Linked DNA regions of Homo sapiens: all the other regions are linked to region 1. The links are contacts of gene promoters, found by promoter capture Hi-C in human tissues and cell types (Jung and others, 2019). All regions are on one chromosome and are shown on one strand. Each heading gives the region's core, a stretch centred on a gene start or on the middle of the fragment in contact. The rest is flanking DNA. Distances are from core to core; before and after follow the strand shown. Region 1 holds the start of FOXG1 (forkhead box G1). Region 2 overlaps LOC102724934 (a long non-coding RNA gene). Region 3 overlaps LOC102724934 (a long non-coding RNA gene).

Region 1 (3,455 bases), core at 956-3,455:
AGGAAAAGTGAGTAGGAAGGGGAAGGCCCACAAATCTCTCCAGCCGGTAGGCAAAGCCCATTAGCTCACCCGGCCCTGCGAGAAATCCAGAGCTTGGAAATAAATGTTTGGGACCATGTCACTATCAACACTGATTGTTGGAACCCTTGAATTTTTCCACATGTAAATACAGTTTGTTTTAAAGTGAGAAGATATGTAGACATAGGTAAAGATACATACATACAGTGGAAGGACATTTGAGGTTAGTCCAATATTCAAAGCTCCTTTGTGGCATTCCTAATAGATGCATATTTAAAATTCACTAGCTATTTGTAATTATCTATTATTCTCTCCAGTTTCCTCCCCCCCCCCCAACCTTTTCTCTCTTTCTCTTTCTTAAGACTGGGGGTGGGGAGGATGGAATAACCCCCTATTATCCTGAGTATTCATCAACCGCATTCTTTATGTTACAATTTAACTTTAGGATCAAGCATAAGCACCAATTTTCCTTCCTTCGTTTTCTTAAATACCAAATCTGCCAGATATCTTAATGAAAGTTTATCCAAGTGAAGAAATGCTTACATTTTATAATTATTTACCTTCTAGAGGAAGGAAAAGGTGCCTTTCATTTATGCTTCTCCACCTCCCTCTTCTCTGGGGCTACATCCTCCGTAAAATGTGGTATGTTTCGTGCCCATGTGGGATGAAACAGCCTTTGATCAATGTGCTCCCCACTAAATTCCAATCCCTGGGAAATGCTGGGCCTTAGCCCTGCCCCTGGCCACGGGATCCTTTTAAAGCCCCCGATTCGCAATTTCCCCATTCACTTCAACCTCCAACCGAACCTTCCCAGTTCCAAAGCCCAAGAAGCTGGGACTGTGAGATCCACGTTCCCAAGGCTCCCCGGTGCTTTCCAGCAGCACTCAGGGTTGGCAAGAGCTGGCTTCAGTATACTGTTATTTCAGGAATGAGGCCCGCACAAAATAAAAGCATTTGAGAAACGGAAAGGAAAAAAAAGGAGTGAAAATAGGAAGGCTTAAAAAAAAAACCGGAAAGAAATAGACGCCCACCCTTATTTTCCCTCCAATGTCAACAAGCAAAACGAAAATATTTCCAGGGTGATCGCTCGCAGCTACCCGCTTCCAATTCGGATTAGAAGCTGAGGCTGGAGCGGCGAGGAGAAAACGACATCGAGTCACCCCGCGCGTGAGCGACGCTCTGGAGCAGGAGAGAAGGAAAAGGAAGAGACACACGTATATAGCATGTGTTACCTGATTTATTTCGAGATTGTTTGGTACTGTTTTCTCTCTGGGCACCTCTCATTTCGGAAGGCCATCAGAGGCGCCCACTACTGAGCGGCCCCGGCCGCCGCAGCAGCACCCGGAGCCCCAGTCCCGGTTTCCCCGCGGTGCCGGAGCCCGGAGCTCGCCGCCGCCCAGGCCTCAGGAATCGAGTAAGTAACCCCTGTTTGGCCCCGCGCTCCTCTGCCCACTTCCTCCTCCTCATCTCATCGCTCCCAAAGCTCTCCCACACCCTCCTCCCCCGAAGTAAAGGACACCCCCGCACACACGCCAGCGGTGGGCCTTATCTCCCCCCTTATCCAAAGCTGCGCTAGACTATTACCTACAAAGGGCACAATTTTCCTGCTGGCTCAGAAATGCCAGACACTGGCCTGCAAGGCCGACTCGGAAAAGTAGTGCCTCGCCTCTACCTCCTCCATTTCCTGCCCTCTCGCATCCTCTCCCTGCACTCCCACTCTTCCCACTACCACCACCACCCCCGCTTTCAAAAATAAAATTGGATACAAACTTTAATCACTAAGGACAAATATTGACGCTTAAACGAAAATGACCCAGTACAATGAGGAGGAAGCCGGAAATGTGAGCTATTGGCCCTAGGAGGGGAATTTCGGTGGAGCGGAGCCGGCGGGGTGGAGGGGGTGGCGGGGGCGCAGGGAAGGGCTGCGGCACCGCGTGCTCCCGCCGGCGTATCCCTACGCGGCTCCGCGCGGCCTCGGGGTCCGAGGCCCGCGGAGAGGGGGAGGCGAGCGCCCGAGGGGGCGGCAGCCGGCGGGCGGGGCGGGGGTGGGTGGGCCCGGCCCCTCCGATTGGTCGACGGCGAGAGAGACGCTCCCGCACGCCGCCAGCTCTGATTGGCCCAGCGGTAGGAAAGGTTAAACCAAAAATTTTTTTACAGCCCTAGTGTGCGCCTGTAGCTCGGAAAATTAATTGTGGCTATAGCCGCCTCGATCGCTGTCTCCCCAGCCTCGCCGCGGCCGCTCCGGGACGCGCCCGCCCGCCGCCCGGCTCTCCCCCCCTTTGGGCTGCTGCTGCTGCTGCTGTGACTGCTGCTGCGAGAGGAGGAGGAGGAGGAGGAAGCAGCGGGGGGGGGAGCGGGGGGTGGGGGGGGAGACCAAGAAGTACAGTTGGGAGCGAGGGAGCTTCACCCCCGGGGCGGTGGTTGTTTCTTTTTTCTTTCTTTCTTTTTTCTTTTCCTTTTTTTTTTTTTTTCTAATTCCTGAGGGGTGGTTGCTGCTTTTGCTACATGACTTGCCAGCGCCCGAGCCTGCGGTCCAACTGCGCTGCTGCCGGAGCGCTCAGTGCCGCCGCTGCCGCCCGCGCCCCCCGCGCCCCGTTCGGCACCCACCGGTCGCCGCCGCCCGCCGCGCCGCTGTCCCGCTCCCGCGCCGCCGCCGCCGTTTCCCCCCGACGACTGGGTGATGCTGGACATGGGAGATAGGAAAGAGGTGAAAATGATCCCCAAGTCCTCGTTCAGCATCAACAGCCTGGTGCCCGAGGCGGTCCAGAACGACAACCACCACGCGAGCCACGGCCACCACAACAGCCACCACCCCCAGCACCACCACCACCACCACCACCATCACCACCACCCGCCGCCGCCCGCCCCGCAACCGCCGCCGCCGCCGCAGCAGCAGCAGCCGCCGCCGCCGCCGCCCCCGGCACCGCAGCCCCCCCAGACGCGGGGCGCCCCGGCCGCCGACGACGACAAGGGCCCCCAGCAGCTGCTGCTCCCGCCGCCGCCACCGCCACCACCGGCCGCCGCCCTGGACGGGGCTAAAGCGGACGGGCTGGGCGGCAAGGGCGAGCCGGGCGGCGGGCCGGGGGAGCTGGCGCCCGTCGGGCCGGACGAGAAGGAGAAGGGCGCCGGCGCCGGGGGGGAGGAGAAGAAGGGGGCGGGCGAGGGCGGCAAGGACGGGGAGGGGGGCAAGGAGGGCGAGAAGAAGAACGGCAAGTACGAGAAGCCGCCGTTCAGCTACAACGCGCTCATCATGATGGCCATCCGGCAGAGCCCCGAGAAGCGGCTCACGCTCAACGGCATCTACGAGTTCATCATGAAGAACTTCCCTTACTACCGCGAGAACAAGCAGGGCTGGCAGAACTCCATCCGCCACAATCTGTCCCTCAACAAGTGCTTCGTGAAGGTGCCGCGCCACTACGACGACCCGGGCAAGGGCA
Region 2 (3,455 bases), core at 470-2,969, 580 kb after region 1:
CCCATTTTAAATATTCTCTATTTAAGTTGGATTTTACTTCTGTGAAAGGGGCTCTTTGCAAATAATTTGAGAAGTTTTGGGAAAAAACCACACAAGTAATGGGGGAAAATGAAGAAATATTGGATGGTATTAAAATGAGAAATGAAAGATTTGAAAAAATTAATACCGTTGTTGAAAAGTGATAGTTTTTTCCTACTTTCATGCTCACATCACAACATTCACTACAATGAGGAAAACCTAGGCATGGAGCTGGCAAGTGGGATTGTTTACTCATCATTACTTATGGTGATGCTGGTGTCGCTTACTTTGAATTTACTTAAGAACTTCAAAAACCATGGGAGCCATGCAAAGTAAGGTCCTAGCTTATTGGCACTTTCAAAAGTCACTTATATTTGATAGTTTCAACGCAGTTCTACATTTGAAGAGAAAACTATGCTGAAATTATATGACAAAAACTATCTTTTTTATCACCTCAGGGTGTTGGAAATCAAATATACAGTTTCTCCTACTTCAGTCATTGCCTAATGAACCATGACAAAGTAAGCTTAACGATGAGAAAACTTGTACCCATAAGTTTTCTCCAAGTTCATAGGGCCTGTTTTTGTGAATCAAGACTATAAACCAGGTAGGTTCACTTCTTTGTCTGTTCTTTGTCTCTCAGCAAACACTTGAAATCCTCTTTCACTAGACAGATTTGACTAATGGATGATTACATTTTGTATAACACATATTTTATGTAGTTCAACATGGTTTAATTATTTAAAGAGATTCTTGGTCAGATCAAAGATGATTCTCGCAGTCATGCTACATGAAATTTGTGCATAAAATCAGAGTTGACCCATCAAGTTGATTTAGAAGTTTAGCAGCAGATTTTTTATTATTATTATTTTTTTAGATGGACTGTCACTCTGTCACCCAGGCTGGAGTGCAGTGGCACTATTTCGGCTCACTGCAAGCTCCGCCTCCCAGATTCACGCCATTCTCCTGCCTCAGTCTCCTGAGTAGCTGGGACTACAGGTGCCCGCCACCACACCCGGCTAATTTTTTGTATTTTTAGTAGAGACGGGGTTTCACCATATTAGCCAGGATGGGCTCGATCTCCTGACTTCATGATCTGCCCGCCTCAGCCTCCCAAAGTGCTGGGATTACAGCAGCAGATTTTAAAGCAACAAATTGAGATTCTAATATCCAGAGAAGATGGCCAAATATGGCCACCAAAGTACCTTTCCATCATTCAGAGTCTTTTTAAAATGATCACTATTGATTTTTAATCATAACAGCATCATCATTTATTGTGTGTTTCCAATGTGCCCTGCATTGTGCTCCCTATACATACAAACTTATTTCATCGCCTCAGTGATACAATAGGTAGGCATTCTTATCCTCACTTTGTAAGTCAATAAACAAAGGCTCAGAAAACTCAAGTTATGAACACAAATTTACACTGAGAGTGTCAGAATTGAGAGTTGAAGCCAGGTGTTTCTGAGTTAAAACCCAAATTCTCTACTGCTGTAATCTCTGCTTAAAACTACTAATGCTAGTTTTAAAAATGAGCTGATATATATTGAAGATTTTCTATGTATTATCAGACATTAAATGCTACATGTAATATATCATACAGTCTTCATAATAACTATTTGAGGCTAGGTACTATTATCTTCATTTTCCATGGAGGTTAAGAACCTATAAAAGTTATGCAATGTCTTCAAGTTTACTTGGTTAGAAAGAGGCAAGAAGAAGGTTTTAGCCTAAAGAGACTGGCTTCATCCACTTCTCGATGTTGCCTCTCAAGATTTCCTTATTTCTATGAATACATTGCTGTTCTCTAAGTGTATTAGTCAGGAGAAGATCATCAATGTGTCATAACAAATGAATCCAGAATTTCAGTACCTTACAACAGCAGAGTGTAATTTTTCACTCATCCTTTGTCCATTGTAGCTGTGGCTATATTCCAAATGTGCATTACAGGAGGAGACTAATAGGTCAGCCTCTACCTAGACATGGTCTCATAGCAAAGGGGGCAAAAAAGACATAGTCACTCATATACTGACTTTCAAACTTCTGCCTGGAGGTTTCATGGCCATTCCTGAATCCAGCTGTGTGGATTGGCTGGTGGTTGGCTCCACAGTGACATAAATCAGACTATTTGGGAAATGGGTGTGCTGGTGTCTGGCACAGTGCTGCCAGGATGTGAATATCCATGCATAAGGTGACAGGATACAACTGGGATTTTTTGAGTTTGTGCCTCTTCAGAAAAACTCAGCTCTTTGATTACTAGGGTAAGATGCACAAGGCAGTAGTGCAGGATGGAAGAATTAAAATAAACAAATAAATCTGATGGGCTAGTATAATATTCTCTACTAGTATATGAGGCACACAGTTTGTAGTTTAATACTTTCATCTGCTTAGGAAAGGAGACTTATTTATAGGAATTTATTGATTGAGGAGAATAGATATTATTGTATCCTGCTAAGCAGTGTATTCAAAATACCTTAAGTGCTTTCAAAAACATACCTATGAGAATACGTCCCTACTGGCATTTCTTAGAATAGGAAAAAGGAATGAAAATAATCTACATACCCAGTGGTAGAATATGGGTTAAATGAATTACATGTCCATTAATGGAATTCTATATTGCAATGAAAATAATATTTAATGATATGGAAACTGTTCATTATATGGTAGAAAAATCTGTTTATAAAACAATATTATTTTATAATTTTATATAATATGAATATATATTCATATATTATATATATTATATATTTTTATTTTATTTATTTTATTTTAATATATTTATGTATATTATATATATTTTATATATTATATATGAATATATATATTCATATATTTTATACATTGAGATGGAGTCTCGCTCTGTCACCCAGGCTGGAGTGCAGTGGCACAATCTCAGCTCACTGCAACCTCCACCTCCTGGGTTCAAGAGATTATCCTGCCTCAGCCTCCCAAGCAGCTGGGACTACAGGCGTGTGCCACTATGCCCAGCTCATTTTTGTATTTTTACTAGAGACGGGGTTTCACCATGTTGGTTGGCCAGGATGGTTTCGATCTCTTGACCTTGTGATCCACCCGCTTCGGCCTCCCAAGATGCTGGGATTACGGGCATGAGCCACTGCGCCCAGCCCATAATATGAATATATTTTTTATATAAAAGGCATATATTAGAAAAATCACTAAAATATTAAATGTTATGCCTATGATAATTTGTGGAGTTTTGCTTTGTTTTATTTTATTTTATTTTGTGTAAGAATTTGGGAGAAAGGGGACCTAGTCAAGAGTTTCCAAATCTTCTACAATGAATAGTTAATACATTTTAAAATAAATAAATAAATATTAATTAAATAATAAACTAAAGGACATGAGGAATAATGTGTAAAGCCCACGAAACTTTAAAATAACTCTATGTTTAAATAATAAAGAAAACAGAGAATTAA
Region 3 (3,455 bases), core at 448-2,947, 550 kb after region 1:
CATTGGCTAGTTGCTCATGGTGTTCCTCGACCTGCAATAGATAAGAATCCTGCTAAACGCTTCATTTGGTCTGTAAAAGTGGAAAAGTTCTAGGTCAAGTGAACAAAAGTCTAATCTGAATCATAAAAACAGTCATGGCCTCTCAATTAATTCCCAGACTTGAGCCAGTTTGTAGACCCAGAACTCTTTGAATGAAGGGGTGGTCAGGTCCTTTGAGGAAAGACCCTGGACACCGCCAAAAAATTATACTGTTAATCTTTCCCTTGGCCATCCTCAAAGGTATCTATGGCCTTTTATCAAGGTCACTGTGCACTAGGGAAAAGAAAATAATCAGACTTTTCATTGATTCTGAATTGACACTTATTTCAGGAAACCTAAACATCACTGTGGTCCATAAGTCAGAGTAGCAGCTTATAGAGGTCAGAGTCAATGGAGTTTTAGCTCAGTGGGCCCAGTGGGTTTCTCGAACGCATCCTGTGGTCATTTACTCAGTCTGGACTGCGTAATTGGAATATATATACACAACAGTTGGCAGGACTCCCACATTGGTTCCCTAACCTGTTGAGTAAGGGCATTCTGGTGGGAAAGATCAAATGGAGGCTGCTAGAACTGTGTCTACCTTGGCAAATAGGAATAAAAAAAAAAATAGTGCATTCCTGGAGGAATTGTAGAGATTAATGCCATCATCCAGCACTTGAAAGGTGCAGAGCTGATAATTCCCACCACATTCCCATTTAACTCATCAATTTGGTCTGTGCAGAAGACAGATTGATCTTGGAGAATGACAGTGGATTTTCATAAGCTTAACCAGGTGGCGACTCTAATTGTAGCTGCTGTACCAGATGTGATTTCACTGCTTGAACAAATTAACACATCCCGTTACCTGGTAGGCAGCTATTGATCAGGCAAGTGCATTTTTCTTCATATCTGTTAAGAAAGATCACCAAAAGCAGTTTGCTTTCAGCTGGCAAGGCCAGAAATACACGTTCGCTCTCCAAACTTAGTGATATATCAACTATCCAGCCTTATGTCGAAATTTAGGTTACAGAGATCTTAATAATCTCTCCTTCTATAAGATATTACACTTGTCCATTATATTCACGACATTATGCTGATTTGACCTAGTGAGTAAGAAGCAGCAAATGCTCTGGACTTATTGGCAAGACACTTGTGTGTGTCGGAAGGTGGGAAATAAATCCAACAAAAATTCAGAGGCCTTCTACCTCAGTGAAATTTCTAGAGGTCCAGTGATACAAGGCGTGTTGAGACATACCTTTTAAGGTGAGGGATAAACTATTGCATCTGGTCCTTCCTACAACCAAAATAATAAAAATACATAATGGGCTTCTTTGGATTTTGGAGAAGATATATTATTAATATGGGTGTGTTACTCCTGCCTATTTGCCAAGTGACTCAAAAGTGCTAGCGTTTGAGGCCCAAACAAAGTGAAGGCTCTTTAATATGTCCAGGCTGCTGTGCAAACTGCTTTGCCACTTGAGCCATAATATCCAGAAGATACAATGGTATTTGAATTATTAGTGGCAGATAGAAATGCTATTTGGAGTCTTTGGTGGGTCCCTGCAGGTAAATCACAGCTCAGGCTCATGGAATTTTTGGAGCAGAGTCCTGGCATCCTTTGTGGATAACTTCTCTGTCTTTGAAAAACAGCTCTTAGCCTGCTACTGGGCCTTGGTACAGACCAAATGCTTAACTATGGGCCATGAATTAACATATAACCTGAGCTGTCCATTATGACCACCACCAAAAAGTGGACAGCTGCAGCATCCCTAAAGGTTACTGGTGAAGGGAAATCTGGGACATCCATAAAGCTGAGTAGTGAATGGAAATCTTCCCAGTGAACAGAATGCTGATCATTGCACCTGGTTGTTCACTTTGCTTGAAAGGAGAAATAGCCAGACAGGCAATTATATATAGACTTATGGGCTGTGGCCAATGTTCTGATTGGAACATAGAAACTTGGAAGAAACATAATTGGAAAATTGGTGCCAAGAAAATTTCGGGCAAGATATATGGATAGACCTTTCTGAATGGGCAAAAGAAATGTGAAGATATTTGTGTCTTAAGTGAATGCTCACCAAAACACGAACTCACTAGAAGGAGATTTTAATAATCAACAGTATAAGTTAACCTGTTCTTTAGATACCAGTCAGCCTCTTCCCCAACAACCCCTATCCTTTCCCAATGGGTTCATGAACAAAGTACACATGATGGCAGGGAGAAAGATCATATATGGGCCCAGCAACATGGACTTCCACTTACCAAGGCTTACCTGGCTTATGGTCACTGCTAAGTACTTAAATTACCAGCAGCTGAGACAATGAGTACACAGTATAATACCATTCCCCAGGGTGATCATGTAGCTATGAAGCTTTCTTATCTACTATCATGGTATTCCATGTAGCATTGCTTCTGGTCAAGAAACTCACTTCATAGCAAAAGCAGTTTGGCAATGAGCTCATGCTCATGGAATTCACTGGTCTCACCATGTCTCCCACCATCATAAAGCTGCTGAATTGATAGAAAAGTGGAATGGTCTTTCGATGACTCATTAACAGCCCCAGTTAGGTGGCAATATATTGCAGGCCTGGGACAAGGTTCTCCAGGAGACTATATATGCTCAGAATCAGCATCCAATATATGGTGTTGTTTATCCCATAGCCAGGATTCTTGGAGTCCAGGAATCAAGGGGTGGAAATGGGAGTGGCACACCTCAGTATTATCCTTATTGATGCAATAGCAAACCTTTGTTCTATCCCTTTAACTGTATATTGTGCTGACCTAGAGACCTTAGTTCCAAATGGAGGAATGCTTCTACTAGAAAAAGCAATATTTCCATTAAACTGGAAGTTAAAATTGCCAACTGGCCACTTGGGGCTTCTCAGGCCTCTGAAACAAGAGGCAAAGCAGAAAATTACTGTACTGGCTGGAGAGATTGATCTTGACTACCAAGAGGAAATTGGACTACTGCTTTGCAATAGAGATAAGAAGGAGTATGTCAGGAATACAGGAGATCTCTTACGGTATCTCTTTGAATTATCATGCCCTGTGATTAAGCTCAATGGAAATCTGCAATAACCCAATGCAGGTAGGACTACTAATGGCCCAGACTCTACACTCTTTTTTTTTTTTTTGAGACGGAGTCTCACTCTGTCGCTCAGGCTGGAGTGCAGTGGCATGATCTCGGCTCACTGCAAACTCCGCCTCCTGGGTTCACCCATTCTCCTGCCTCAGCCTCCTGAGTAGCTGGGACTACAGGCACCCACCACCACGCCCAGCTAATTTTTTGTATTTTTAGTAGAAATGGGGTTTCACCGTGTTAGCCAGGATGGTCTCGATCTCCTGACCTTGTGATCCACCTGCCTCAGCCTCTCAAAGTACCGGGATTACAGGCATGAGCCACTGCGCCTGGCCTAATGGCCCAGACTCTTTAGGAA

The links. Contacts are between HindIII fragments. The study calls those that stand out against the background at their distance.
Region 2: a fragment that was not itself captured here is called in contact with the fragment with the promoter of FOXG1 in region 1 in 3 of the 25 tissues and cell types used here (H1 embryonic stem cells, dorsolateral prefrontal cortex and neural progenitor cells).
Region 3: a contact is called between a fragment that was not itself captured here and the fragment with the promoter of FOXG1 in region 1, in 6 of the 25 tissues and cell types used here (H1 embryonic stem cells, heart left ventricle, lymphoblastoid cells and 3 more).

The regions. Positions count from the first base shown.
Region 1 is chr14:28,764,582-28,768,036 of GRCh38, forward strand. It overlaps FOXG1 (forkhead box G1), which reads left to right and starts at 2,206. Exons shown (of 1, transcript NM_005249.5): 1 at 2,206-3,455. The coding sequence starts at 2,699. It overlaps FOXG1-AS1 (FOXG1 antisense RNA 1), which reads right to left and starts at 738. Exons shown (of 7, transcript NR_125758.1): 1 at 579-738. RefSeq lists an enhancer at 1,337-1,861. The HindIII fragment of the contact is 7,501 bases long and covers 1,655-3,455 here.
Region 2 is chr14:29,346,817-29,350,271 of GRCh38, forward strand. All of the region lies in intron 3 of LOC102724934 (a long non-coding RNA gene), which reads right to left. Among named protein-coding and RNA genes, the nearest start is that of LINC02326, 280 kb to the left of the region's middle. The HindIII fragment of the contact is 3,855 bases long and covers 1-3,455 here.
Region 3 is chr14:29,317,972-29,321,426 of GRCh38, forward strand. The region is part of intron 4 of LOC102724934 (a long non-coding RNA gene); the gene reads right to left. Among named protein-coding and RNA genes, the nearest start is that of LINC02326, 250 kb to the left of the region's middle. The HindIII fragment of the contact is 5,587 bases long and covers 1-3,455 here.